Regions from separate parts of the Homo sapiens genome. Here all the other regions are linked to region 3. Evidence: promoter capture Hi-C in 16 types of primary human blood cells and fetal thymus (Javierre and others, 2016). All regions are on one chromosome and are shown on one strand. The core of a region is centred on a gene start or on the middle of the fragment in contact, and the rest is flanking DNA. Distances in the headings are between cores, read along the strand shown.

The links. Contacts are between HindIII fragments. The CHiCAGO score rates a contact against its expected background, and 5 or more counts as called.
Region 1: a fragment that was not itself captured here is called in contact with the fragment with the promoter of POLR1F in region 3 in 1 of 17 cell types (monocytes); the score reaches 5.2 in monocytes.
Region 2: a fragment that was not itself captured here is called in contact with the fragment with the promoter of POLR1F in region 3 in 1 of 17 cell types (naive B cells); the score reaches 6.7 in naive B cells.
Region 4: a fragment that was not itself captured here is called in contact with the fragment with the promoter of POLR1F in region 3 in 1 of 17 cell types (monocytes); the score reaches 6.4 in monocytes.
Region 5: a contact is called between a fragment that was not itself captured here and the fragment with the promoter of POLR1F in region 3, in 3 of 17 cell types (total B cells, naive B cells and erythroblasts). The highest score is 7.9, in total B cells.
Region 6: a contact is called between a fragment that was not itself captured here and the fragment with the promoter of POLR1F in region 3, in 1 of 17 cell types (monocytes). The highest score is 5.2, in monocytes.
Region 7: a fragment that was not itself captured here is called in contact with the fragment with the promoter of POLR1F in region 3 in 1 of 17 cell types (monocytes); the score reaches 7.3 in monocytes.

Annotation. Positions count from the first base shown.
Region 1 is chr7:20,389,887-20,392,586 of GRCh38, reverse strand. ITGB8 (integrin subunit beta 8) reads right to left here. Exons shown (of 14, transcript NM_002214.3): 7 at 1,089-1,184. Among named protein-coding and RNA genes, the nearest start is that of ITGB8-AS1, 59 kb to the right of the region's middle. The HindIII fragment of the contact is 2,588 bases long and covers 70-2,657 here.
Region 2 is chr7:20,341,379-20,344,078 of GRCh38, reverse strand. All of the region lies in intron 1 of ITGB8 (integrin subunit beta 8), which reads right to left. Among named protein-coding and RNA genes, the nearest start is that of ITGB8-AS1, 11 kb to the right of the region's middle. The HindIII fragment of the contact is 3,904 bases long and covers 1-2,700 here.
Region 3 is chr7:19,707,762-19,710,461 of GRCh38, reverse strand. POLR1F (RNA polymerase I subunit F) reads left to right here and starts at 1,425. Exons shown (of 4, transcript NM_001002926.2): 1 at 1,425-1,699. The coding sequence starts at 1,446. RefSeq lists enhancers at 1,273-1,552, 1,094-1,696, 1,663-1,732, 1,697-2,301. The HindIII fragment of the contact is 8,345 bases long and covers 1-2,700 here.
Region 4 is chr7:20,430,867-20,433,566 of GRCh38, reverse strand. No RefSeq gene overlaps it. Among named protein-coding and RNA genes, the nearest start is that of ITGB8-AS1, 100 kb to the right of the region's middle. The HindIII fragment of the contact is 605 bases long and covers 1,072-1,676 here.
Region 5 is chr7:20,319,794-20,322,493 of GRCh38, reverse strand. No RefSeq gene overlaps it. Among named protein-coding and RNA genes, the nearest start is that of ITGB8, 9.8 kb to the left of the region's middle. The HindIII fragment of the contact is 1,389 bases long and covers 617-2,005 here.
Region 6 is chr7:20,484,946-20,487,645 of GRCh38, reverse strand. No RefSeq gene overlaps it. Among named protein-coding and RNA genes, the nearest start is that of ABCB5, 130 kb to the left of the region's middle. RefSeq lists an enhancer at 81-580. The HindIII fragment of the contact is 1,361 bases long and covers 669-2,029 here.
Region 7 is chr7:20,453,287-20,455,986 of GRCh38, reverse strand. No RefSeq gene overlaps it. Among named protein-coding and RNA genes, the nearest start is that of ITGB8-AS1, 120 kb to the right of the region's middle. The HindIII fragment of the contact is 6,142 bases long and covers 1-2,700 here.

The DNA of each region.
Region 1 (2,700 bases), core at 114-2,613, 680 kb before region 3:
CACAATCTACACATGTAACAAACTTGCACTTGTACTCCATACATTTACCCTAAATAAATAAATAAAGCTTCACCATAGATTTCTAAAGGAAGAAGTGTTACGATTAAAGTAGTGCTTTCAGATAAGGTAGGTAGGTAATAGGGAAACTGGTAGGGGGAACACCAGCTTGTGGCAAATGGAAATGGGTTCAAGTATTTATTGAAGCCAAGAAAATGTAATTTCTCTGCAGTTTTTAAAAATAAGTAGAGGGCACTGGGGACTGGCCACTGAGGGGAAATGTATAATTAGGGAGCAGATGGGAGAAACAAAGATAGCAAAGGAGATGAGGGAGACCAAGTAAACAGAGATGCACAATGAAAATTAGGGTGTCATAGCTTCATGAAAATGAGAACAAGAGAGTTTCTAGGAAGAAAGAGCCTTAAAGATTGTGAAAAGAAAGCTATAACAGGGTTGCAGAGGAACAGTTCTATGCTGGGGGGTCCATGGCACCTCCAGTGTGACACAGTTGCTGTCTATTTTGCTTGAGGGTCTCACCTGGCCCAAAAGACTCCAGACACCACCAAGATTATTCTTATGTGTGAAGGCTTTGACTGGCTCAGACACTTCGATGGCCCCTTTTGGTCCGTTATTGAATGACCTAGACCAAAGCTAGGTGTGTCAGTGCTATTTAGAATTAAGCTGATATTCTCTAATTTTAACCTATTATGAGGATATGCTCATGTACCAGAATAAGAAGAAGCACTCTAGACATGCAAGATGCAAAGACGGATTGTGAACTACTTTTTGCCTGATAAGTCTTCTCCACCATTGTCACATTTGAGACCACCCTAAGCATCAGGCTGGACTCAAGTGTATCCAATACAATTCTCAGTTCTCAGATTTGGTTCTAGATGTTACAAACCTAAATAGAATTTATGCTTAAATGCTAAGTTAAGACATTGTAAAGGATACTTTAGTAATACAATATAGAATTTAGATTGTACAAAGTATAATAATTCCAGAATCCTTATCTGTGGTTCTAAAGAAATGTCTTAATTTCAATTACCAATGAAAAAAATTTAATTTTAACATTTTCAGAGTTAACATACCTTATACCAATGAAATTGTTTTCCTTGAACTGCAAAGATGACATTAATGTTGTTGTCTATTAATTTCTCTGAAAGTTGGCCTAGTGAGGGGTGTTCCTGTAATGAATAATAAAATAAATAAGGGAATGAAATTTCATAGCTCCATCCTATTCAAACATCTAATATGAAGAAAACTGTATGACTTACATAAAAATGTACCTGGGAAGGACTATGGTTTTACTGAAGACATTTAAATTTTTGAAAACATAACATCAATATCCATGTATTAAAATATTTTATAGACAAAAGTCCCATAAAAACCTGTAACTTAAAAAGATGAAGAGAGCTGAATTCAACTAACTAACAAAGAGTGAACAGCACCTCTTTAGATTAACACTGGACTCCAAATGGTGTAACTGACAGATAATTTAATATTCAGAAATAGAGACACGTTAGTGGCAATCACATTCTAAGGTGAAATTCAGTAACAAGTATTGAACTGCAAATATGTATGCATGTATATGTATATGCCTATAAACATATATATACACATACACATTCAAACATCCACATATACTATATATACACATTTGATATATAACATGATATAGTTATATAACATATATATATAACATGATATAGTAACGCTCTTTAGAAGCAGGAAATGCTCTACTCAAGTCCTAGGTTTGTCACCTTACAACAAAAGTTCTCAATTCCATCTTCTGTAATATGTGAATGATACCTGCCTTCCATGATTGCTGGCAAGATTAAAAAGATAATAATAGTATGTGAACTATTTAGTGCATTTTCTTGCATGCAGTAAGTGATCAAAACTAATAGCAATTCTGATTCTTATTTCAACTGCTTATACAAGGTATAGATTACAGATTTCTCAACTTATCATTATGCTCAATATTTTTGTTGTATGATATATTTTATACCTGCTTTACTTTGATAAATAAAATTTATGTTGTGCCAACTGTGGCACTCTTTGTGGTAATGAGAAAGTTAGAGAAGAGTAGGAAAATTGAAATAAAATTTAGTTTAGAGAACATGAGAAATCTGATGATTACATAAATGACTATCTAGAGTTATATAGTTAGGTATATTATTGGTAATATTTTTTCTATAAATACTCTTCTAGAAATTAAAATGATTGTCTCGAATAACAAGTTCATAGCTAGATACTTATCAGAGAGATGATGTTAAAGTTCACTGGCAGTAGTCTCTCCTCATTCACTGGTGCCTAATGGCATAAGCCAAAGATTAGTATGTAACTGAGCCCAATTAGTATCATAACATTTAAGTTCAAATTACTCCATAGTTTTTGCTTCCCACTGCACTCTCCAATGTTAACTGTATTTTCTTTAAGGAAAAATCCTGTTAAACCAACTTGGTAAACATTTCTGTATTGTGACAACTATGTGAACTTGGTAAAAGGGCTAGACTAACTAGTTTCACTTATAACGTAAGTTCTAAGTAACAAATAACACTTTATTTCTCTGTCATCTATAATTGTTGTGATAGAAACAAATCAAATTTTCATGAGTTGCCTTTACACATGATATGAAACCAACTAATGAAGAAGCTTAAAAAGTATTAACACGTAGGTCTGCATAGGAAAAGTTTTTCT
Region 2 (2,700 bases), core at 101-2,600, 630 kb before region 3:
TCCTCTCTGTCCCCATAGCAACTAGTCCAATGTGAAATGCACTGAGCAGGTGCTCAAGCAATGAATTCATTTATTGATTAAATAGTAATGGTGAAAATTTGCAAATGTGATCAAAGGATAACTGCAAGGCCTTTTTCAAATACCAAAGAAAGTTTAAATGATGTACTCACCAAGCAAGGAAAGTGTACACACACATATTAAAAAGATGTTCAAAAGCAAGAGTCAGAATATAAATGGCCATAGAATTTAATTAATTAAAACATCACTTTTCATAGGCACTCTAGGTGACCAGGATTCTCCTATAACTATTTTTTACCTGCTCATAGGTAGCTCTGTTAGTATTATCAAAAGCTACTTGATTAGAGGAAGAGAATGGGTGAATATTTAGTCAAAAGAGACAGGACATTATCATCTGGGAGTGGAGAGCAGAAAACTCCGCTTCTTAAGGAATTTTGAGATTGTAATAATTTTGATGGCTTCTCCATCCTGAATTTTTTTTTGTAATTACTTAATACTTGCAATTAAGCCATGGCATTGTGCAGGGTTTTAGGGATAGGGCACCTGCTTGTATTCCTGTTGTAGAATAACAGCAAAACCTGACATAAGACAGAACTTAACAAGAGTGCTATGAAATGGAACAGGCAGGGTACAGCAGGCAGCAGATAACAGGACGATGTCACCTCAAGGGGGAGTGGGAGGGCCAGAGAAAACTTCCTTAAGGAATTTCCTGGGCCATTTTATTACATGATTGCATCTTTATTCTGTCTGGTTCCCAAATATACATTATCTGTTAAAAACCACACAGTATTGTTAGGTTACTACTGAGAGTCAGCCCAGGCAGCCGGATCAATAAAAACTGGCCAAACGGCAGCAAAGCTGTTCAGAGACATGAAATTGTCTGCCAATATCCAACATCCCATTTCTAAACTTTGAAATCTGAGCCCCTCTGTTTCCTACTTAGCTTTTCCTGGGACCTCAGATCTCTTTTGTCTTCTAACATTTAACCCCTTTCAGGTTCAACTCTGCCGTGTCTACTGAAGATCTGCAAGCTGCCTTTCAAAATATACAACCAATTTATATTTGAATGGGAAAAACAGGAATTACACCCTCACCATGACTGAGGCAATAGGATGTCTCTTCACCTTGTCAGACCCACACTGCATATCCATTGATTATGCAGAGACAGCTAAGTTAATCTGTTTCTTCTGGCCTGGAAGGCTCTGCCGTACTTGCGAACAAATGACAACCAAACTCCAAACTTTGTGTTTCTAGGTTTCTGTGCTCTCAAATGCAGTGTGAATATCTGTGACCATTGATTCCTTTGGTCTTGAACAACCTAAAGTGCCCAGATTCCCACCACCTTTCACTTTTGCACACCAATAATTCCAAAAAAAAAAAAATGAATGAAAAATCTTTTGCCAAATGTGCCATGGGTATAGAAGTTACTGGCAAAACCCTCTCAGATTCTGTAATTTCCAGCCAGTCTCCCAGTGTTTATGTGGCACCTCTTGAGATCTTTTGGATGGAAGAGTTTACTGTATATCTAGGCAACATCCAACAACCTGGTCTTGTGTAACCAACTCATTTAGACCATCCTGGGCCACTTACTGTACAGCATCCTTAGAGGCCTAGAAAGGTGAGTTTGCACTTTTAAGGATAATGTTTTTGGGAATCCAAATTCCTCCTTAGGAAATTCATGTGTAAAAGTGCCACTTAGGCTGGAGAGGTAAGCTCCAAAACGTTGAGGTAATTCTATATTTCTTGGGACTTTCAGGGTATTTAGTTCCTAGATTGTCAATACAGAGCCCTAACAAAGATCCTCAAGTGGACTGACCAGTTAGTGGGTCCTCTGTCACTAGGGCAGCTTTATATTATACAACTTGGAGGCCAATTCTTACGTCCTCTGGAGCTTGATGTTCTTTCATATCATGCTAGAAGCATCTAGTTTGTTCAAAGGGCCAAGAATACTCTGGTTCTGCATGTGGGCTTTTTTTCATTAAGATTAATCCCAAAGGAATTGATAATTACGCAGTATAGGAGAAAATATCACATACCACCTGGGCAGTATCTGAGAAGTTTGCCCTGTGAGAAGGAGGAGTGTAACATCCAATGATCGTTCTGGCTGACCCAACTTTTCTACCCCACCAGTAGAAAGCAGTCAGAAGTAACACATCTTTTTTTTTTTTTTTAACTCAAACATATACCTAAGAGGCAGAATTTGTCCAAAAAGCCCTGATGTCTGACTTTTCATAATGCCCAAAAGTCAATCTCTGCCCAGACAAGTCTATAACCAGATAATCCAACCTCAGGCAAGTGAGTTCTGGCATCAGTGCTATGCTGACCCCCAAGTAGCCAACTGTCAGCCCCGGACAGCCCTAAAAGGGTGGGTGGGCCCAATCTCCAGCTGGCTATGCTGTCTTCAGTGGGCCACAGGCACGTGCTCAAGAGCCCCCTTCCCTTCTCCCATGTGACCACAGTCCCATCAGATGTTACAAAGTATCATGTGGCCTTGGATACCTTCTTTACAAGGCATCAAACATGCTATATCTTCTAAACTAAAGACTGGTAGTAATGCCATTTAGTTCTCATATTTTCAGTATCAACCTGACGTCAGGCTCTCTGATTATATACGTTGGCCCTCACTTTAGGGCCCTTGTTCTAGCTGGTAGTGACTGACACACTCATCAAAAGGGACCTTTT
Region 3 (2,700 bases), core at 176-2,675:
TTAGGAGATGAGGGAGTATGTTAATACTCACATCACTGCTATACATTTCTCTTGGCACTTATCCAGCATAACCTGTTATATGTTTATGTTTAGATCCCACTTCCACTTAGGCTGTGAGCTCTTTATCACTTATTATTTATTAACTCACTATCAGGTTATTCATTCAAGATGTATTGGTTGGGTTTTTCTTGGTTTCGTTTCTTTGGAGGAGGGATAAATTGTGGGGGGCTACTGTAGTGAACAATACAGATATTATGGTCCCCACTTTAGTGAGTGTAGGAATCTATTGATGGAACAGGCAAGCAAAGACAGTTAATAAAAAATTAACATAAAAACCAACATAGATGGGTAACTACCTAATCCTTATAGAGAAAGAGGAGTGGGGTGCTTGAAAACTCTTTGCAAAGGTATAGAATGTAAAATCTAAGCTAGAAATTCATACATGAGTAGAATTTACCCTTGTGAAAAATGCTATTATATTCCCTGGTGGAAGGAACAGCGTGAGACTGCACAAAGAGAGACCTGAAAGTAGATCAAGCAGCATGATAATATTAGGGTGGGGAGTGTGACAAATGAAGCTGAAGAGAGAGGCTGTGTGCCCACGCAGATCACAAAATGGCCTTGTAACTTATAAGCCATTTTCATGAGTTTGTGTTGTCCTAGAGAAAATGGGGTGCCTATGTAGGGCTTAAACAGGGCACAACACGATCATATGTATTTCAGGGAAGATCTGGCTGCCCCAGAGTGTCCTCCTGACCATTGAGCTAGGCTTCCACAGGCAGGGAGTCCTGCGGTTTTGGCGGCAGGGAAAGAGAATAGTGTCCAAATAGAATGATATTTCCACTTTGGGCAATACAGGTCTTCAGGCTGATTTGATACTTGGGGATACAAAAGAGGATCCGAGGCTGACAGCTTGGCTGTATGATTCCCTGATTTAGCAGTTGCATAATGAGAAGAGAAGCGGGACAGGAGAGAACTAGTGGGTTCGTTTTCAGATGCGTTGCATTACAATTATCAGGCCTGCTTAGGATTCCGTGTACTGCATAAAATATACTCCATAAATATTTTGATTTTTTATTGTACAGTCCAAGCCTGTAAAATTCTACCAAACCCACCTCACTACTGGAAATGATCAAAGTGAGAACCCCCATTTTTAAGCTACCTACTTAATCCAATAAGCCTCTGTGCGAAAACACACATTTGCCTGCCCTTAAAAGAGCAGTCGGTTGGCTTTCCTGCGTGCTCAATGCATTTCCGAGGCTCTAAGCTCCCGTTCTCGAAGCGCGAAAACGCGGTTCCCCCTGCTGGTCAGGGCTGCGTAATGCAGCGAAAAGAGGGGAAATTCCTAGGGGCGTGGTCGTTGGTGGATGGCGTAAAACGAGCGCCGGGGACATGGGATTGTGCTTGCGTCAACGGCGCGCGCCGTGGGAACCTTGACAAGCAGCATGGCTGCAGGTTGCTCAGAGGCGCCGCGGCCAGCGGCGGCTTCTGATGGGTCTCTGGTAGGGCAGGCTGGCGTCCTGCCTTGCCTAGAGTTGCCGACTTATGCCGCTGCTTGTGCGCTGGTGAACAGTCGCTACTCATGCCTGGTGGCCGGGCCGCACCAAAGGCACATCGCGCTGTCGCCCCGCTACCTTAACAGGAAACGCACCGGCATTCGAGAACAGCTTGATGCGGAGCTCCTTCGCTATTCTGAGAGGTACCGATCTCTTTGCCTGTTCCTTCTTTTGTGCACGGGAAGTAAAGCAGGTGGATGTGCTGACGACGCAGCAGAAAGGGGCAAATGGCAAAGGTCGCATTGCCCCCCAGAGCTTAGCCCCCTGGATTTCTAGAGTCGCGATCCGTCCCTCAAGGCCAGTACCGCTCTGGTAAAGATCTATACAGGGTCCCTTTCATAGATAGAGAAGAAAACTTAAAGATGAAGTTCAGGTGTGGGCGGAGGGAGTGGAGATTCTTGCTCCAGAACCCTGGTGTAGGGGTAGGAAAAGACCAGGGATCTGGAGACCTAGTAGGCCCAGTTCTGTTTGGCATTCAACGTTTCATTTATCCCCTTACGGATGATGCTTTCTCATTTGACGATAAAAATCTGGTTTGCAGTGCTTGAGTAGATTCTCATTCCATAGAAGATAGCATACGAAGCATTAGTACAACCGTTCTATTTGTAAAACATGAAGGACCTTTTTTGTTGTTGGATTTCGCTCTGGTAATTTCCCCATTTTCTCTTCTCTTGGACCTGATCTGGGGATTATGAAAATGCCATTAGTTTAGCGGGATTTTGTTGTTTTTAAGAAGATTTATTCAGTCGAACTAGTGAGCCTGTTGCTTTGGGGAGAGAAAAAACCAAAACGTATGCATTTATATTACGGTATTCAAAAGTGACTTGAAAACTTAGAATTACAGAGGTGTGGGGCGGGGGGCGCGGGCATGTGCTTGAGTATTCCTCTGGACTATACTTTGGTTTAAAAGCGGGGTTCTAAAACTAGAGGGAATGGATTCTCTAGGGATTCATGATTGCCCTTCAGGAATTCCTATGTGAAGTTCCTTGGGCACTGCATCGGAAGTTTTTATCAGTTTCTTAAGGGATCCTGGACCTCCACCCATGTCTAGAATCTGCAGATTCTTCCAAGCACCAATATACACTTCTTGTATGTTTATATTACATACCGAACACTTGAGATACAAAAACAAAAAATAAAATCT
Region 4 (2,700 bases), core at 125-2,624, 720 kb before region 3:
TTTAGATTGGGAGGACATTCCATTGATATGACTTTTATCCCACTCTTAATTTTCATGACTAAATAATCTATGACATAAAATATTATAAAACCAGCTACAGGTAATATGCCATTCTTTTTTCCCAACAGAAGAAAACACTTAAAGATATTAAATATGTAAGAATCCTTTGCCTTTCACAGCTTCCCCTTGTTGGGTACGTGTTTCCTTCTGATAAACTACATGTTCACAGTCAAGTGACACTGATTAAATTATAATGCAAAAAATTTTGTTCTCTTTGTCATATTCCTTTATTAGAGAGCTAATAACCAATTGAATTCCATTAATAGTTAGGGTTTGGTAATGATAAGCAAAAAATAAGTAAATAAGAAAACTAAAACAAAATAATAAAATGGAAAACCAGCAACCTAAAGACAGTAAAAGAATAGGAAATTATATGTAGAAAATTCACCTACTCGTGCTGGGCACTGTGGCTGACACCTGTAATCCCAGCACTTTGGGAGGCCGAGGCTGGTGGATCACTTGAGGTCAAGAGTTCGAGACCAGCCTGGCCAACATGGTGAAACCCTGCCACTAGTAAAAATACAAAAATTAGCCTGGTGTGGTGGTGGGCACCAGTAGTTCTAGCTACTTGGGAGGCTGAGGCAGGAGGATCACTTGAACATGGGAGGCAGAGGTTGCAGTGAGCCAAGATTGTGCCACTGCACTCCAGCCTGTGCAACAGAGTGAGACTTCATCTCAAAAAAAGAAAAGAAAAGAAAATTAGCCTACTCAGTTAAAAAGTCTCAGGTATGGGGAGGCACTTCGTAGTTTAGACTTAGATGACACTAAGAGGTTCTAAGTGTGAGGAGCTCAACAGTAGTATCTGGAGCCTGCTGGGATCCTTACTTACGTGTGGCGGTTCTTCTCCAGGCAGAACAGCAAGGCTGAGAGTCCACAGTGGAGATGGAGAAGCAGGATGTTTTAAGGGAATGACCTTGATGCAATGGTAATCTTCCAGTGTACAACCAGGAAAACTATCCCAGAGGTCACAGAATAGAAAGATTCAGAGACTAAACTGAAACTGTAAAAGCTTGTGGTTAATTGAATCAACGTAAAACAGAGTGAGATGCAAGAAAAAAGATATGGTGTAGGTGAAGACACCGGAGAGGGTAGAGGGTTAAAAGAACCATGCTATGTGAATTCTGCATCACGCAATGTTTCTAGGTCCTATCTCTCTTTCCACCTTATCAGCTCTCTCCATTGTCTGCATGATTACAAGGACCAGGTTTGATTGTGAGCAAGGGACTCAGCAGATGGACAGTGCCTGGAGTCAACACTTGCACTGTAGAAGACACACAGGGGCAAATCGGCTTGGTCTCAGCAGTAGCTTCCACATTAACTTACTGAGCAGCTGTGGATTCTATCTGCACATCTCAGGCAGAGGATACCTGGCCAGAATGGGTGTCACCAGTGAGTTGAGGCAATTTAAACTCTCGTGCCTATTCAGTGTCCCATGAATATTATATTTGGCCTCTCTCTTAACTCATCAACATTTAACAGACCATGAATTTTTGCTGCCTTTGGGCTTTCCATCCTCACCTTTGTTTAACACACTGATGTGCTTCTTTCTTTCCCTATGTCTGACATAGTTCACAGGTCATTAACTTGCTATCTATGCTTAATACCTACTATAAGCTTCTGTGTCTCACAAGCTCCTTTTATACTTACATTTATATTGAGTATTTCTTAAGAGTTGTATCAACTCTATTTGCTTTTCTTGTCTTTTACAAAAGAATTGAATATTGTTAAATAACACAGCAGACACCCCTTACAAGGAGGAGGGTATGAACAGAGAAGAAGAGCTTGGGGATGTGCAGAGGGTGGACTTCTGTGTGTTTGTGGAAATTAGTTCCACAATGTGGATTGCCCTCTGGGAGCTGACAGGGAATGGGCAAGGTATTCCTCTTCCCTCTGGGTCCTTCCTATATTCCCTCTCAGTTCTAACATTCTGGACTGGGTCTCTATTGGTTTTCATGGATGATTTATAGCCAGGCACTGAAGAATACTCTCTACATAGCTGTATACTTTAAAAACAGTCCTTTCATAAGCTGTGTTATGCTGTTCATTCCTGTACCATTACATATTTCCCTAGAACTAATAAATTATTTACTTTGCATCCACAAGGCTTAACTAGAAAAACGTACCAAAAATCAGAGTGTCCAAGTATTGAAGAAAGGGGAATACAGACTTTCCCAGGCAGATGACTCCGAAATTGTTCAAGGTACAATTTGGACACAGTATTTTGATTGTGAGTAAGACATAAAACTGGAATTCATCAAGTGTCCTAGCCTGTCATTCCTATGACAACTCATTTGTGTTTTCTGTTCAAGCCATACATTTGATTCTGACCATTCAGCCCTGTAAATTCCAGCTGAACTTTAGCTAAGTTCTAATATAAGAGAGAAAAATCCCCACTATTACTTACAGTATAAGACTTTCTTCTTTGTTTTTCATCTTGGATCATGGAAATCACCAAAGTTTTACTGTTGTGTCTTAAGATTCTGATCCGAGGGGGTGGGTAAGTGCTAATCCAATATATTTGGTAATTTCTATTTTACCAGGCAGTTCCTCTGTAGTATGTCTGCCACACTAAGACAAATACATTTTAAAAATAAATATTTTGCAATTTGAATTTTCTTATCAAGGTAACTTAATAATCAT
Region 5 (2,700 bases), core at 62-2,561, 610 kb before region 3:
GCAAGAGTGAGAGACTCCGTCTCAAAAAAAAAAAAAAAAAAAAAAGACTTAAAAAAATGACAGTATTTAGTGGTAGCTAGGTTAAAATAGGAACTCATTTATAGTGAAATTGTAAATTGGCCCTAACTTTTTTTGTAATCAGTTGGCATTATGTAATAAAATCTTTAAAATATTTGAAATACAATTCCCATATCTGGGAATTTAGTCCTCTGAAGGTTCAGAAATATAAGAAATTTATTTATAAAGATCTGCTTTTCAGCATGATATACAATTGCAACATAAAATGAAAACAATATTTTTGGCCATTCGAACCCTTTTCAACCTAAAGTAGCAGGGAAGTCTATCAAGATTTTAAGTGTACCACAGGTATCATTGTTCCCTTTTACAGATGTATGCTAGACAACCCCTGTCTTTCATTAGTTTACAAATTATATTAATCGTGTCTTAGTGAAGCATCTGAAATCTTTTCTATTCCCTTTACCCTCTTTACTCCTTAGTAAAACTTCATAGTTCAGGCTTTTTTTTTTTTTTTTTTTTTTTTTTTTTTCGGGAACTCTTAGCCCTCCTTTCTCCACAGTAGTAGGAGAGTTTTCCTTTGGAGACAGAAATCTAAGCTTTTTGTCCTCTTCTTAAACCCTTCTATGGTTCGTTTAATGCCACTCTCCAACCTTTCTCCTAGGCCATGAAGAGACCTTTAGCATCAGCTATGAAACCTTGGACATTCTGGCCCCAAATCACATTCCCAGTACCCTTTTCTATGAAATCCTCTGCCCTTTCTCAACTGTGTTTACCCTAGGCTCTTCAGAAGAGAATCCTGGTTTTCTATAAGCACTTTCACTTACCTTTTCATAGGCTTCATTCTTGGCCAGACATGTTTTTTCCTCCACTTTTTTTTTTTCCTCATTTGTCCTACTTGATTGTCAAGCATCATTTCTATTGCCACTTCTGCAAGGTCTTTTCAAATTCCTCTGGGCATGATTTACAATGTCTTTCCTTTTAAGTCATTAAACATTTTCTCATTAAAAAAGTAATATGTTTTTATTATAGAAAACATTACATTTTCGTGATGAATCTTATTTGCTTTATTTTTATGTACCTGTGTTCATACTAGATTTATCTTTTTTTGTTGTACTTTTTGTGATTATCTTTCTATGTTACATATTATTCCATAGTGGCTGTGGCGCCTAGTATACTTAAATATGCTGTGTGATTGCACCAGATTCTTGGCAGTGAAATATATTTAGTGTACTCAAATTGGGCAATTTGAGGAGAATTTTCTGATAACCGTGGGATAGGGTGTTAGTGATAGCACAGTATCCCTGAGTTAGAAACAGTGTGCATGGGGGCAGGGCGCAGAACAGAATGCATCACTATCCTTAGGCTTCAAAAGACGAGAGAAGCATATATTACTGAACCTTAGGGAGATTGAGTTATGTGAAGAGGGCCACGTGAAAGGCTGTTTTACCGTTTTACCTTTGTTCAAGAATGGTGGCCAGCCTGAGGCTATCTGCGGAAAGGGGACAGGGAAAATAACTACTCCTACTTCATTCTTCTTCTCATCTTCAATTTTATCAAGACGTACCATTAGTAAAGTTCATACCAAAGCCAGAAGGTAGTGGAGCCACAGTCAGAGTCTTAGGAAGGCTGGTCTCTTATAGCGGAGGGCAATTGGAGAGAGAAGCTGGTGGGGCAAACAGAAGACACTTGACATACCTCAATGTTGGAGTGTGTTCTGTTTATAGTTTTTGGCCATTTTATTAATAAACATATTTGCATGCATCTTTATCCAAATTTTTTAATATTTAGGATTCTTTTCTTAGGAAAAGTTCCCAAGGTAAAATTACTGGGTCAAAGGTTAGATACATTCTGAAGGCTCCTAACACTTACTGCCAAATAGCTTTGCTTTTCCAAGAGATTGTACAAATTCATCCTCCAACCAGAAAACCACGAAAGCACTTTTTAATTATATTTTAAACCCTGGGGAATGTAACCCTCAGGAAAAGCTTTCTGACAACGAGTAAGAAAGAAAGGGTGGGTGTGGTTGGGAGGACAGTTGCTAGTCTGGAGTTAGAAGAAGATAGGGCCAGCCAAAAGACCCAAAGAAATAAGAATTAAAGGACTTGATGAGACGCTTTGTCCAGTTAAGATCCCAATGCTGGGGATGGATTGTGTACTTTGAAATGGCTTTTTAAGTTAGCCTTCCAGCAGGAAACAGAAAGCAGACAAACTGAGTAGTTGAGGACTGTAGGGAAGGTTTTAAGAAAAGGAACAACCGGTGGTATATTCCTCTGGGACTTGTAATAGTGGAGAACCTTAACATCCCTGGCTTGGAGGAACAGTAAAAGACAATATTTCAAGGGACACACACATACACTCACACATGGGGGATGGGGGGCTGTGTAAGGAGGAACTCCAAATAGGAAGAAGGGATTAAATCAATGGACCAGCAGGGGGAAAGTGGGGCAAATAAATGCCCTGACTTGCATTTCTCTCCACCCTCCAAACTCCTGCCAGTGCTCCCAGATGGGCCAAACTCAATGGAAGCTAGAGGTAAAGTAGTCCTTTAACGCATTCTATACCAGCCAGCTTCCTGGGGGCACAGAGTGGGTAGAGAAGGAAACTGGATGGGCAAATGGAAACTATCCAACAGATTTAGGTTTAAAGGATATCAGATGGCCAAGGGAAAAGAAATTAGCTTTA
Region 6 (2,700 bases), core at 100-2,599, 780 kb before region 3:
GTTAGTGGAGGCTGTGGCAAGGCTCCACTGGGGACAAGGACATCAGGCATGATTTTTCTCAGGTCCCTGGGAGATGTTCCAGGCATGGTGATTAAGGGTCTAGGCAGGCAGGTCCTTTTGGCCTCCGGGTGACTTGCTTGGGTGGCAATGGTGGCTGGACTGAGTGGGTGAACGGGTGGGTTCTTGGGCCCCTGTTGACATCAGTGGTGGCAATAGTAATGGCGGTCCAATCCTCAGGCCCCTGAGTGGCATGTAGGGGGTGCTAGCAGTGGCGATGGTTGGCTTGGTGGTTCAGTTCTCAGGCCCCCTGATAGTGCACACAGGTACTTGTGGCAGTGGAAATGGGTGGGGCTGGCCTTTCCTCAGATCCCTGGATGGCACACATGTTCAACAATGGCAGTGGTGGGTGGGGTGGACCTGTCATTAGGCCCCCTGGTGGAATGCACAGGCCAGCCAGAGCAGGTTGAGTGGATCAATCCTTGGGACCCCAGACCATGCATGTGGGCACCAGTGGCACTGAGTGACACAGGCTTGTTCTTAGGCCCAGTGCCTGAGCAGGCCAGTCCCAGGCCCTCTGAAGGTACATACAGGAGGCTGGAGGAAGTGAGGTTGTTGTCAGCGGTAATCTCCTTAGGCAGTTAGTTCTTAGGCTGCAAGCAGAGTAAGCTTTGGCTTCTTTTGTCCTGGGGGCAGCTTTCCTAGTGTGCTGCACTGCCTGTTCCCCAGGGTATAGGACACTGCCTTGGTTAGAGTCCTTGAGACGCAGCCACATTGCTGGGTGCATCTGGTGGTGCAATGCTACAGTGCTCTGAATGGATGTTGGGGGATGGAAGTGGAGCTTCAGGAATGTGGAGATTCAGGGGCTGTTGGGCTCCAGAGGCGGATATAGCTGGTGGGGACTGGGCTCTCAAAAGGGCCCTGTGCTGCAGCTGCTTGGGTCTCAGGGGGTGGGTGGGACTCAGCACAAACCCCTTCTCTGGAATAATGTCACTATGTAGACTCCAGACATCTCCTGTACTAGTATCAGAGTCCATAAGGGCAAAGAAACTCTCTTGTGGCTAGGATTGCAGGGGTCCATAGTGAGAATATGAACAACTGGGGATATCTTAGTTGTCTTTTCCCTACAATAGAGAGTTTCTCCTAGCTTTGAACCAATCCCAGCCAGGCTGGCTGTTTCGCTTTCCTCTCTTTCTATGCCTCAGTTGTTCCCTGTCACTTTCCTGCTGAATTCCAGTGTTCTCTCTTAGAAGCTCTATTTGATGTATGGTTATCTACTTACCATTTTGGTCCTTCTTTGTGGTTAATCAGTCATATGGAATTCCACCCTCTGCCCTTCATTTTAAAGTTTGTTACTATGTATATAAACATTAAAAATTGCAATTTTTCTTTTTCAAATTCAATTTTTAGTTTTTTAGTGACCATTTTTATCTTTTCTTTTCCTTTTTGGGACAGAGTCTCCCCCTGCTGCCCAGGCTGGGGTGCAGTGGCACGATCTCGGCTCACTGCCAGCTCCACCTCTCGCATTCATGCCGTTCTCCTGCCTCAGCCTCCCGAGTAGCTGGGACTACAGGCACCTGCCACCACGCCTGGCTAATTTTTTTGTATTTTTAGTAGAGACGGGGTTTCACCATGTTAGCCAGGATGGTCTCAATCTCCTGACCTTGTAATCCACCTGCCTTGTCCTCCCAAAGTGCTGGGATTACAGGCGTGAGCTACCACGCCCGGCCGACCATCTTTATCTTTAATATTTTTTTGCCTTTATGTTTATTTTGTCCGGTTTTAATATAGGTATTCCAGCATTCTTCAGTTTAGTATTTATCTGATATATCTTTTTCACTCTTTCCACATTTTCTTTCATTTCTTTATGATAATGGGACTCTTACAAACAAAACTTAACAGGTTTTTAAAAATATTGAATTTAATATTACAAAATTTATTTTAAATGAAGAATTATTTTAAATGTATAATGATCACTAATATATGTTATTGGTTCTATTATTTTATTATGTGTTTCCTATTTGCCTAAGCTTTTCTGTTTCTCCTTAACTCTTTTCTTACTAGTTTATTGTTGTTTTTTCATTTTAATTATGAGTTTTTTTAACCCATACAGAAATTTTATATTTGTTTGGTTAAATTTATTGATTTTGGGAATTGCATTTGGATTTTGAATTTATAGTTGCCATTTTTCATTCTCATGACTAGTGTATTTCAACATTTCTGAGAAATTCTTACCCTTTATCTATTCTAATTTTGCTTCATCTCAATTTCCTTTATTATTTCTTTTGGAGCCCTGACTAGATGTGTTATCTTAACCTATTTTTAATTTCATAGGTTTTTTATTTTTTCTGGGCTACATTTTGGACAATTTGTTTGAATCTGTTTACTAATTTCTATCCTAGATTTTTATTTGTGTCTGAAAGTCATCTTGGCATTTAAATCCAATTCTTTAAATTTTATTCTCTACCAGAGATTTGACAGACAATAGAGGTGCTGTAAATTCAGACTGTAAATCTCTATGAGGGCAATTTTGTGGTTATGAATTCTCCCTTTTCTCTCCATCCCCACCTCATCTTCCTCTATGACAAGGCTTGAGACAGGCAAATTTCCTTGCTATCTCCTCCTAGGTAACAGGTTTTGCTTCTTCTTCATCTTTATACTGCTGGCAGAAAATCCTATTAGATTTCCCACTTTTCTGAGTAA
Region 7 (2,700 bases), core at 158-2,657, 750 kb before region 3:
TGAAAATGTGGCACATATACACCATGGAATACTATGCAGCCATAAAAAAGAATGAGTTCTTGTCCTTTGCAGGGACATGGATGAAGCTGGAAACCATCATTCTCAGCAAACTAACACAGGAACAGAAAACCACACACTGCATGTTCTCACTCATAAGTGGAAGTTGAACAATGAGAACACAGGGACACAGAGGGGAATGTCACACACCGGGGCCTGTCGTGGGGTGGGGACTAGGGGAGGGATAGCATTAGTAGGAATACCTAATGTAGATGACGGGTTGATTAGTGCAGCAAACCACCATGGCACGTGCATACCTATGTAACAAACCTGCACGTTCTGCACATATATCCCAGAACTTAATTAAAAAAAAATAGGTTGCATAAGAATTTATACTATATGAACCCATTTACATTTAGTTTTGGAAACATGAAAAAACTATGGTATATGTTGTTTAAGAATGTATACAGATGGAGTAAAAGTATAAAAATATATGGAAATAGGCATGAAATTTATAGTAATAGTTATTCTGTGAGAGAGTGAGTGGGCTGTGATCAAAGATCAGTTCTCAGAGACTTCCAAAATTTTTGCAAGGTGGTATTTCTTAAGTTGGGAGGTGAGTCCCTGACTATTTGTTGTTTTTTAATACACATTTTATATCTTAAATATTCCATATATACATTTCTGTGGTGTAATATTTCTTGGTGCTGAGAAGGGGAAAATAAAGGTGGTGACTGAGGAATCCCCTGCCATGTGGAAAATCAGTTCTTTGGTATTTGGTTCCTACTGACTGGATGTGGAATCCCCAGTATTTTGGAAATATTTGGAAGATCAAGAAAGTTTTCCAGTGGATAGGGCCTTTTCTCACTTCCTTTAAAGATTTTCCTAATGTCTTTGTATTATGAAAATGCATTTATGCCTCAGTTGGAAAGATAATCCATGGTTTGTGTCTCTTCCAGTTGAAGTGTCAATCCTTCACCTTCTTACGTCAAGAAATGAAGGAAGGCAGTATGGTTGAATGGATAGAACATGAAGCCAGACTATCTTAAAATCAAATCTTTGCTTCTTTTCCAGTAAGCTGTATCAACTTGGACAATGAGTAATTTACTCAATTTTTCTGATTTGTTGTGAAAGTCAAATGAGATACCCTATATAAAGTGCCTGAGACATAAGGGCAAAGTCATATTCTGTTTTGTATCATAATCTATAATTTCTCCATCATTTTAATTATATCTATAATGATAGAACTGAGTGATTATATTCAAAAGCCAGATTGAAAGTCACACATTGAAACTAAACCAAGGATTAGTAGAATATTTGTTTTTTCCTGGCTAAACATTAAAATAGTGTGCTGAAGACATCATGCCACTCTTTGATCTTACTGTTGAGTGAGCTGTTACTTCTCAAGGCTAAAGACTTTTCCCTCATATATAATTGCCCAGTAAAGAGTTCTTCATTTATATTGGAACAAAAATGAGTACATGTCTTGGTATGTGTGCCTGCTATTTGCAAATTAGTGTTTATGATGACAATTTTCTTTTAACTACCAGAATGATAGCATTTCAATCCATCAAAATTTTAGACTTTAAGTGGTCTCCAGAGACCATTTCTAAGCCTATTGCTGCTCCTGTTCCTTGGCCCATCTCCATAGTTTGTCAGGACCTACTCCGGGGAGGGTGATCCCTAGGGCCTGCTTCACAAAGAGACGTGACTGATTCGTTGCCAGGAACATCCTTTTCTTGCCTTCACTCTCCTAACTGCGGGGCCCATAGAGACTGCTTTCTCAACTCATCACACTCGCTGTCAGTCCTCTTCCTCAACTAGTGATGGTCTTAAGACTTTAGGAAAGAGGCCGGGTGCGGTGTCTCACGCCTGTAATCCCAGCACTTTGGGAAGCCAAGGCAGGTGGATCACGAAGTCAGGAGATCGAGACCATCCTGGCTAACCTGGTGAAACTCCGTCTCTACTAAAAATACAAAAAAATTAGCTGGATGTGGTGGTGGGCGCCTGTAGTCCCAGGTACTTGGGAGGCTGAGGCAGGAGAATGGTGTGAACCCGGGAGGCAGAGCTTGCAGTGAGCCGAGATGGCACCACTGCACTCCAGCCTGGGCGACAGAGCAAGACTACGTCTCAAAAAAAAACAAACAAACAAACAAGAAAAACACTTTAGGAAAGAAAGTGTATTCCTCTTTGGAGGAATTTAGACTCTCCTAACCTCACCTGAGTTTCCTCAGCTTCTGCACCACAGTTTGGCCCTTGTGTCTCACCTTTCACTGCTGCTGTTCTGCTTTTATCCTCATTCCAAACTCGTTTGATTTGAATTAATTGCCTGTTAATGGAAGTATTAAATAAATAGAAGTTTAATGAAGCCAAAGAACTTAAAGAAGGTTACACTTCTTTTGTCTTGGCAAATTTGAATGGTAACTGGGTTGCATTAATTGGCTTTATACATTTGCTGGGCACTTACTCCAACTGAACTGTTGAGGCACTGAAGCATTAAAGCAAACTGAGATAAGGCAGGGAACAGAAGAGACAGTGTCAATAAACAATACACCAATCAGTTAAATAGAATTCCGTTGATTTAATTTTCTTTCCAAAAATTCTGGAAGCCTAATCCTATTTGGCTTATAAACAAAGGAAATATATGCTAACATCTCATAGCACACACTTTCTTCCATTTCCATGTCCTCTGATTAGAGTATC